Linked DNA regions of Homo sapiens: all the other regions are linked to region 1. Evidence: promoter capture Hi-C in 16 types of primary human blood cells and fetal thymus (Javierre and others, 2016). All regions are on one chromosome and are shown on one strand. The core of a region is centred on a gene start or on the middle of the fragment in contact, and the rest is flanking DNA. Distances in the headings are between cores, read along the strand shown. Region 1 holds the start of SP8 (Sp8 transcription factor). Region 2 has its middle 15 kb from the start of TWIST1. Region 3 has its middle 3.3 kb from the start of TWIST1. Region 4 has its middle 5.4 kb from the start of POLR1F.

The links. Contacts are between HindIII fragments. The CHiCAGO score rates a contact against its expected background, and 5 or more counts as called.
Region 2: a contact is called between a fragment that was not itself captured here and the fragment with the promoter of SP8 in region 1, in 1 of 17 cell types (naive B cells). The highest score is 5.7, in naive B cells.
Region 3: a contact is called between a fragment that was not itself captured here and the fragment with the promoter of SP8 in region 1, in 1 of 17 cell types (naive B cells). The highest score is 6.9, in naive B cells.
Region 4: a fragment that was not itself captured here is called in contact with the fragment with the promoter of SP8 in region 1 in 1 of 17 cell types (monocytes); the score reaches 7.2 in monocytes.

The regions. Positions count from the first base shown.
Region 1 is chr7:20,785,621-20,788,141 of GRCh38, reverse strand. SP8 (Sp8 transcription factor) reads left to right here and starts at 1,256. Exons shown (of 2, transcript NM_182700.6): 1 at 1,256-1,364; 2 at 2,347-2,521. The coding sequence starts at 1,344. The HindIII fragment of the contact is 6,810 bases long and covers 1-2,521 here.
Region 2 is chr7:19,101,356-19,103,876 of GRCh38, reverse strand. No RefSeq gene overlaps it. Among named protein-coding and RNA genes, the nearest start is that of TWIST1, 15 kb to the left of the region's middle. The HindIII fragment of the contact is 6,208 bases long and covers 1-2,521 here.
Region 3 is chr7:19,119,703-19,122,223 of GRCh38, reverse strand. No RefSeq gene overlaps it. Among named protein-coding and RNA genes, the nearest start is that of TWIST1, 3.3 kb to the right of the region's middle. The HindIII fragment of the contact is 803 bases long and covers 858-1,660 here.
Region 4 is chr7:19,713,196-19,715,716 of GRCh38, reverse strand. No RefSeq gene overlaps it. Among named protein-coding and RNA genes, the nearest start is that of POLR1F, 5.4 kb to the right of the region's middle. The HindIII fragment of the contact is 2,662 bases long and covers 1-2,521 here.

The DNA.
Region 1 (2,521 bases), core at 7-2,506:
TAAATAGAACCCATATATTTCGATCAAAGTCCTGATTCTTTTCTCAGAAAGAGGCAGTGAGGTTTTCTGTGAAAATTTCTAAATTCCGTAAAACGCTCTTCAATTTCTTACCCAAAGAAAAAACGACCCTCGCTTACTCTCTTCTCTATCTAATCCTTTTGTATTGAAATTTACTCAACACCACGGGACACACACACCTCCTCCCCTAGAGTGAGACGTGCACTTCTAAAGCAGAATTCCACCTCAGGGAAAAAAAAAAAAAAAAAAAAAAAAAAAGCCACGGCATCAAAGAAACAACTCATGGGCGCGCAGGCGCGCATCCACGTCCCAACGCATCCCTAAAAATAACCCTTAGCCTCTCAACCTTTCTACTATTTCGTTGGAGAGCCGGGAAAGAAAAGGTGGGTTTAAAGATCTTCTTCAAAAATGTAGTGACGCTGTTTACCAAGTTAAGAAAAAAAAATCACTCAAGATTTTAGGTACAAGGAGCCAAAGGAAGTTGGCGACAGGGGCAGCGTTTGTGAATATTTATTCACTCAGCCTCCATCAACTTAGTCGGTTTCTCTCTTCAGCTCGACAGTCTCTCTCTTACAAACACACACTTTATTGCATTGTTCCCATTCCCCACTACCAGCTTTGGTGCGCGCACACAACACAAGCGCCCACACACACCCTTCCCTCTTCTCTGTCGCACAAATACACATGTTCACAGCCCTCCTTCTCCCCCAACACCAAACACACTCACCCCCCACCCAGTTGAGTCCCTCTTCCCTCCCTAGGTTTGTCAGTTACACTACCGTACACTCACACCCTTCCCAACACTTAACTGCTCTGTCCCTCTACCCCGCTTTGTCGCACACGCAGTTATCTTATCACACAACCCTCCCTTTTCTGCACTCTCTCCACTCCCCGCCTTTACCACACTGTCACTGTTACGGTGTCACACCCCCATCCCCCCTCCCTCCAGTCTCCGCACTGTCCTCTCCTACGCCTGGTCACACTCGCACACAGTTACATTGTTACACACACACTCATACACGCGAGCGCGCGCTTTGCGCTTTGTAACACACGCAGCCGCCCCCGCCCCCTCCGCTCCCACTCCCCCTTCCACCACGGCGGCAGGCGGCGGCGCCGATGACCTCACGGCGCGCGCGCCGCGCGGCCCGGCGAGGCCGCAGATTGGCTGGCCGCGCCTCCGCGGCACTTCAAAGCCGGAGAGGGAGCTACAATTGTGGTGGAATGGGCGGAACTGATCATTGTATTGCACACCTCTAAAAAAAACACTGCCTCTGATTTATCAATATAAAAAAGATCCTCTGAGAGGAGGAGGGCACTTTTGTGTGATGGCAACTTCACTTCTAGGGGTGAGTCTCAGGATTTTCTCTTGCTGGTTTAATTAGTTTCCTTTTATTGCCGATTGGAGGGGGTTAAAGTCGCCCCGGCCAGGCCACGGGCTATCAGTCTCTCTATTGAGAGCTTTTTTTTTTTTTCTTTAAATACAAGTGAGTTTGGAGAAAAGAAAAAGGGGGAGAAGGGGGCAGAGTCACTTTTTTTCAGCGCAGGAAAAGGTTCGAAGGGCATTTAGACAAGCCACCGCGCAGCGCCTCGCTGCTCCCTGCCCGGGAGACCTGCGTCCAGCCCATTTTACAGGCACCGATTTCGGGGGTAAAGAGAGCAAGTTTTTCCTTCTGGGCAAAGTGCAGATTCTTCCCCTAACCCTTAAAAAAAAATTCTGCAGCCCGCCTTGTCTCGCAGGTACGTTGAACTCGTCTCGTTTTTACTACTGTAGATATGCTTTTAAAAAAAGAAAGAAAGAAAAGCAGGAAGAAAGAGTGAGCCCTACAGTTTGATTTCTTTTGGCCTGGGAGAAACAACCCAGGATGGGTTTCTGGGGACCCGAACAGGTTTTTCAAAGCTCTCCGGATTACAGGGAAGCGCTCTTAAAAGCAATCCAATGGTTTTCCCCCAGGCTTCTCGGCAAAGAAAACTTCCTTCCTCTCCAATCTGGACTTTTTGCTTGTTTGTTACGAAGTGTCTGGGGCTTTGTGTGCAAGAGAGTGTTGTTTTAGGTGAGAATACTTGTCAAACTCTTCTTTAGCGTGGTGCTTGCTCCCGAATCAGACGCCGGCAGCCAAACTTGTCCCCTCCTGTAGAGTAGGAAGCGGCCGGGCGCCGGGGCTGTTGGGGGTGCCAGGTGAGTTGGTGGCGGCGCGCCGCAGCGAGAGATGGGGTGCAGTGGGGCGCTTTGGAGGCTACCGAAGGACTGATGCACATTTCTTCCTTTCCTCCCCCACCGGCCCTTTGCCCACCTCCCCTCCCCCACTCCTTCTCCTCTCCTCCTCGCAGGAAGAACCGAGGTTGGGATCGACTCCTCTGGCCATGCTTGCCGCTACCTGTAATAAGATAGGCAGCCCCAGCCCGTCTCCCTCCTCCCTCTCGGACAGCTCTTCTTCCTTCGGCAAAGGCTTCCACCCCTGGAAACGCTCCTCGTCCTCTTCTTCCGCCAGCTGCAACGTAGTGG
Region 2 (2,521 bases), core at 8-2,507, 1.7 Mb after region 1:
TGGCGCGATCTCGGCTCACTGCAAGCTCTGCCTCCCGGGTTCACGCCATTCTCCTGCCTCAGCGTCCCTAATAGCTGGGACTACAGGCGCCCGCCACCACACCTGGCTAATTTTTTGTATTTTTAGTAGAGATGGGGTTTCACCGTGTTAGCCAGGATGGTCTTGATCTCCTGACCTCGTGATCTGCCCACCTCGGCCTCCCAAAGTGCTGGGATTACAGGCGTGAGCCACCGTGCCCGGCCGGAAAGATAATTTAACTAGCCTGTGCAGAACTGTTTGTTGGTCAGAAAAACCAGGAGTGCAGTTTGCCCCATGGAGTGATTACAGATGAGGCAGAACCAAAGGAGAGTGATCATGAGTGGTTTTTCCTACTCTGTGCAGATGATCCCAGAGGTCTTTTCAATCTGTGATCTGTGGTGCCATTCTTATATCTGACATGCTCTCCTAGTGGGTTTTCATGAGTTATTGATGTAAAGAACAACCTGTAACCAGAGTGTAGGTAGCACAATTCATAAATATAACAACCTACGTAAAAAGTATGTGGACTTACACAAACGTACAGCCACAGGTGACTCTCATTTATTCCTGTAAATCATGTACTCAGTTATCTGGCTGTACAAATAGAGTTAAAATTGTAGATCAGCAAGAAGTAATGTCGAAATGTTCATTCTTCCTCAAGCACTTTTCTTCAAGTGACAGGCTGCATGGCTGGCCACTATGACACTGCCTTCAGTTGAACAAATGAAAGATTATTCAGTCAGCAAACATTTCTTGGAGTTCTGATTACGATCTAAGGACTATGCATAAGTGACCATGTTATGCTCATGACAGTGAAGGAAGAAGCCTCTAATCGCAGAAGCATGGTCTCACTTGTGTATGTTTAGCTACATGTGCACTGGAGGTCCTTGCGGTGGCTACCACACCCCAGTTTTCTTTGATATTTTGAGGTGGTGCAGAAAATTAGAGACCCCTTACCTGTGGGAGAATAGGAGTGGAGAGGGAAAATAAGTTCCTCTGCATTAAGCATTCTGAGAGTATAAACTTTAGAACAGAACTAATGGAAGTGAGCCCAAGAACTTTCTCTTTTGCATTTGCTATTTTATCTTTTCATCAATCTGTAGGAAAAATTAAGTGATTAGTAGTCACTTATTAGACTATATGTTTTTGGTATACAGATGCCTGTCCAGCTTAGTGATGTGTAATTCTAACACTTTGCTTTGTGCCTGGCACATGACATTTTTGTTAATTTGAACTAAATATACTAATTATCAACATTATACCAATAGGAAAACCTGGGCAGAAATGACTGAAAAATGACAATACTGACAGTCCCATTCTATCATGGGCAGGGGGGCGGGGTAGGAGGATTAATACTCTTATCTTTCATTTTTAGAATAAAAGCCCAGGTAAGCAAAAAGATGTTCAAAAACATTTATTGAAACATTATGATTCAGACACTTATTTTAAATGTTTTAAATTTAAAATAGCTGTGGAGCCCATAGTTGCTATTTGCTTATATGAGCTCCCTGTCTAAATAGTAAAGGGAGCCCTTTTTTTCAGGGCTTATATCTTATTGTGCAGAGTGGGACTTATTTCAGGCCCCTTTGCACTGTGGACCAAGTGCCCTTGTTCAGTGACCATCCCTCACAACCATATGTGGCAGCCATAGTATTCTGAAAGTAATAAGTATTAAGTCTAATAAGAAATTTGGCTAGCATATTAGTGTGTTGTAATGTCTGTGAAATCAACTCCATTTGTTTCGTGTGAGAGCTCCACATATACTGTCCACATGTGATTCTTGTCCAAACTGGAGCAGCCTGTCCAGAAGGGTCTGTCTTTTCTCCTGATTCGGCCAATTAGGGCTCTATTTTCATATATTCCTGTGCAATAAACAGCTCCACATTGTTCTTTCACCTTCTAAAACAGCATAATCACTGATGATTAAACAGTACATGCCAATCAGTATCTGCTGAGAAACTGAAACTTCAAGTTACTTTTTTACTGCACATATCCACACATTATTCCAAACCCAAGAGTGGTGGTTTAGAGACTCAAATGTAATTGATTGTGAATTGAAAAGAGGCATTCTAAAAAGATTTTACCATTTGTGTGATTAGTATGAATGGAGAAAGTTGCTTCTCCACCCCCATTCTTCTCCTGCCTTCCCCTTCACTCCAGGGATGCGGTGAACTTGTGTAATTTAAGGCAGGTGGTCCACATAGTAGGCTGACCACAGAGGATGAAAGAGTGTGCATTTGATACCCTGACTGCTGCTCTTTAATAGACTTTAAATATACTCTGACTATTATTTGGCTTTGGCTATTACATTTATTTTCACTTTCTTTCAAAGGCTTTTCTCTTTCATTTCATCATTTTTCCACATACTGAAATGTAACCCTGGTCCAATGGCACCAAATGGAGGATTTATCTATATTGTCGTCAAACTAAATGCAAACGAAAAATCAAAGGAGAGCAGAGGGCACCACTGTATTGGTCTCTTGAATGCTGAAAGAAAATGTGT
Region 3 (2,521 bases), core at 10-2,509, 1.7 Mb after region 1:
CTTTCTAAACAAAGTTATCTGGGAAATTGTGTCCTCTTGTGGTGACTGGCAAAAACAACATGTTTTCTGCAGAAAGAACCAAACCAAACAATAGCAGCAGGACATAAGGCTTCAGGAAAACCCATTTGTGAAAAACGGAAATCCCTTCCAGTGAAGAAAGGTGAAAGTTATGAGTAATCAGAAAGAGAAATTGAATTGAAAAAACATAGAATGTAAATCATTCCATTTATATTTAAATTACTGGTCATCGGATGATTAAAAAGAAGACACATAATGCTATGTAGAAAGACTGAGACCATGATAATAGTTCCTATGAATAACTATTTATTTCTTGCATTCTTTCATCAGTTATTCCAGCAACTCTTTGATACAAGTGAAGTGAGTGTGTTTTCCAACAAGGTTAATGGGCAGCTAAGACACCAACTCTCCAGCCTGCACAACCCCTGAAAAAAAAAATGAAAAAAAAAAATGCTCTTCAAGACTCCATACTTTTCCATATTCTGATCCTGCACTTTCTACAGGTTAGACCTATGTCTCCTCATCCCATCCTTAAGCTGAGTTCAGAATGTCAGCTATTTTAAAGATTAACATTTATTTGAAAATTTCACTTGCGGTACTGTTCGCACCCTAATTTATTGTGTTTTTTACTTTTTCGTTTTATTTCTGGATTGAAAACTTCACATTTTATAACTTTAGTTTGTTTTTTTTACTTTTAAAGATATTCAGATAGAAAAATGTAGAATCAGTTGAGTTTATGAATCAAATCATCATTTAAAGAGAAAGAGAATGAGTTTTTATATAGGGAAAGGTGTTCAAACATCATTAAGGCTACCAGGGTCATGAAAGAAGAATAAGCTTTTACACAGTTATTGTGTTGACATACATGACTTTATATTCCACCTTACTAAAATTCTCTCATTTAAACAGCAGTCCCTCTGGAGTGTTCAAAGCAAGATGAAATCTAAGATATACAACCTCATCTGATATTCACTCAATTGCAGCCTTTCTAATTTTCACTCCCTTCCGTGCGAATGCTCCTGTGCACTATTTATGCAATTCAGATAAATTATTTCTCAGAACTCGGAGCCAACAAACAGGTGATAGGCCATCTAAGGTCTGAGGAGAAAGAAGAGTAGGAACAGATTGAGGTACTCACCTTTTATGCAAGCCCAAACTCCAGAATTTACCAGTTGGCTAACCATTCTATAGTGTGTGTTTCTTTTCCGTATCTAAAAGTATTTATAATTGGTTGTTGCTAAGAGAATGTCACAGCATATTCAAACTGCCAGGATACTTAATACTTATTGTATATGTTCAATGTGAGATTTCTAACTCTGTTACTTTTAACAGTATTTTTTGTTTCAATTTTTAACACAGCACACATTCCTCAGGCAGGATTGCAAACATGCCAAGTTTGCAGTTTGAAAACAAAGATCGTTTTGAACTATCCAAGTACAAAAGAAATTTTTTTTTTCAGTTAAATTTTTTTGGGGAGGACTTTACTTTAGAAGGAGGCAAAATGACTGAATTCCAGTTAATCTAGCATTCCCAAAGAAGGTAGTCCCCACTGACATACTTCCAGTTAGGCTAACTTCAGCCTCAAAAGAAAATTTCTAAGATTGTTTTCATGATCTCAAGATTGGGATTTTAGAAAGAAGCTTTCAAATTTAAACTAAACATTGCAGAAGTTGCAATTATTGTTGCATATATAAGAGAATCCAGAATTATACCTGACCTGTCAACAAGTAAAAAGGGAGCCATCCTTGCAAATGTGGAAAAGAAAATTGTTAGGTAAAATGTTAGATAAGAAAGAGCTGTATATGAGCAGACTGGACTCGTCAGCCAGGGCGTGTTGCAGTTTGCAAAGCAGGGAGTATCTAGCTCCAGCCATTTTTTGAGAGGTACCTCCTGGACTACTTTTGCTCCAAAAGTAACATTCAAGCCCCACTTAAGAACTCAAAAGTCGTCTCATCCTCCACTCCCCGGAACAGTTCAAGAGCCATTTCTTCTTAGAACTAGTCATCAATTGTGACTGTGGCTGAAAGAGTCCATGGGCAGGATGGTTCTGGTTAGGTGTTCATTTTGAATTCCCCTCTCAGTATTCTGGCATCAGAGCGTCGCCTGAGCCTTGCGGGGATCCCTGTACCCAATGGCCAGGAGCTCTTCATCAGCTAGAAGTTTAGTGCCGGGAAAAGGGCTGGGCTCACTTGTTTAAGAACCAGTCTTTGAGACTGATGACTTTGCAAGATGGACTGGCTAATGACCCCTGGCTGCTGCGCTGCTGTGGACTTGGTTTCTCCTCTAGCTTGTCCGCTCCCCTCCCCTTCCCAAATTCCCCTTGGTCAGGTAAGATTTCCTTTACACTTTACCCACACTTTCCTGTCTTACTTATCCGTGGCCACAAAGGAAAGAGTCCAATCATTCGATCTCTTTATTTATTTTTGAGAAAAGAGAAAAAAAGAACAAAACAAAAATAAGATTTATCTTTAAAAAAATAGCTGAAGTGGAAAAGGTTTCGAGA
Region 4 (2,521 bases), core at 9-2,508, 1.1 Mb after region 1:
CCAATTGAAATCCAGCTTTAGTCACTGAGGCAGCAGCAGCTAGTGAGAGAAGCGACTGTTTTAGTCACCTGGCCAGCAAGTATGTACACATATTGAAAATAGGAATTCAAAGAAAGGATTTCAGCCAACTGAAAGAAAACTTGAGCTCCATAAACCTTGAATATAAAGAGGATGGAAAATCTAGGAGGTCATTGGAGACAGGCAGAAAGCTGTAACAGAAACGGAAACAAGATCACTTTTCCCCTAGGCTTTATTGATAAGGTGCTTGGACCTGTAGGCTATAGAGAAAACTAATTTGGTCATGAAAAAAATTATGCCCTTATATTAAAGATATGTTCATTTCTGGTAGGCTCTGGTGTTTTTTTTGTCCTACTTTTAAACATCCAGTTTAGTCTATTCGACTGTGCCAAAGATTTCAGGAGAAAAGGTTTTTTTCAAGCGGAGTTAATACTGTCAGTATCACCCTAAAGCCAATATGGTACAAGAAAACAGGAATCACAACAAAGAATATCAAGGCAAAGTGAGACACAAAGAAATCGAGTAGCTTTCTTTTATTCATTAGTCTTTCATTTTATTCATTAGTCTATCCTACTCAGTGCAAATTTTGGACTTTCAGATATTTTACTAACAACTGTGGCCTTAAAGTAATGACTTAATTTGTAAATTCCTGCAGGGCATTTTTCACAACTGGGCAAGTTCACTTTGCCATTGGACAACGATAAATTCATAACTATAATAATTTCCAAAGCATAGGTGTATTAAGCACCCTGTAGCTGTAACGGGAAGTCTAGAATATGATACATTAATATAAATTGTGTTTGGGCACTTCAGAGTAAATTGTGTATCAAAAGGCACTGCATCTAAATTTCATTTTTTTAATTACCACCCTCAAACTTTCCGTACCACATTCTTCGGAACTATTTAATGTCAAGAATCTTGGAGTTCACATCTACACAGTTTCTGCAGTCAGCAAGTGCTTTATTAAACTACAGCATTAAAGTAATCTTCAAAATATAAAAAAGAAAACTGTTTTCTATTTCTATTCTGCACTGAGCAAAAGACAGGTGGAAGTAAATGAGAATTTCCACAGTCACCCTTGCAAGCATCACAGCCAATTGTATTAGCTTAATTCACTGGATTTGAAAAACTTGAAAGGAGGATGTTGAAATTTGATTGCAGAAAGGTCTGATTAGAGAGGAAATAGGGCTTAGAAGAAATACTAACACTAGTTTTTGTAAGAGGACAATAAATACAGATGGCATCTTGTCCTCCTAAAGTAGACTCACCCCCTTGAGATACCTTGTTTACCTCTTCCCAACCTCTAGAAGCAGTCATCAGTGCTCACATCTACATGTACGCAGACTCGTACACACTCACACACCTCAAATTTATTTTATTATTTAAGCTAATCCTTTCTAGCTGACATCTTTCATCCAAAGTGCTAGGCAGTTGCCTTCTTGGCTTTTACCTAGATAGATAATTGTAACATCAGGAGCTAAAAAATTGGCATGACTTTATTTAGGTCCATATTTCAAAGCTCAGGTTTAAACGATATGTGTGTGTGTGTGTGTGTGTGTGTGTGTGTGTGTGTGTGTGTGTGTGTATGTAATATAATGTGCTCTGTTAATATATTTCCTCATTCTCTTTAGGCACATGTGTATCATGTAGTGTCAACAATCTAACAAGCAAGTAGAAGGAGCCTTCAGAGTCAAAAATTTATCCTAAGTTCTCTGTTGAAGAAGGATTGTAGATAAAAACAAGCCATCAATAAAGTTTCCCTTCACTTTTGTCATTTCTACAGTCCTTAAGCTAAAGCAAAACTTTACAAATTTAAGCTCATTTTTGCCATCTGCTGGCAAATTTGTGAAACACAAGTGGTCTGCATCAACAAACATTTGGTTGATATACCCTGTATTATATATATTTCGGCTAAAACTGGTGCTTGTTTGACACCTTTCCAATCCTACTAAAATGTTAATATTTACCAATTTGGTCAAATATCTTACCTTAGCACTTTTCTAGGCAGAGACTAAATAAAATAAACCATCAATTTTTACAATTTCCTTCTTCATCAGTTTTTGATATAGACATAGAAAAAGTGAGGATCTTTAGTGATTCAAAGCATAAATTATGGGATAACTCATGCCTGGGTTAGATTCCTTTATTGATAAATCGCTGGGTATTCTTGGGAAAGTCATTGGTTCATTCACTCAAGGAGTATGCATTAGGCCCTGGGCATATGACTGTTAGCAATACAGAGAGGATAGCTACCATCATGAGGCTGACATTTCTTTTAGAATACAGGCTTCTCGCTTGTAAATATATGTCATTAGTGTAATCAATTCATAAAGATTATCTGTCAGTGATTTACCTAGGGCACTTGGCATAGCATCTGGCAGGTTTGTAGTAAAGTTTACCTGTGATAATGTTGGTCATTGTGATGTTGACACTCATCACTCATTCCACCAATTTGATATAAACAGTCATATAAGTGTGATTAAATCCTTCCTGTCAGTACTAG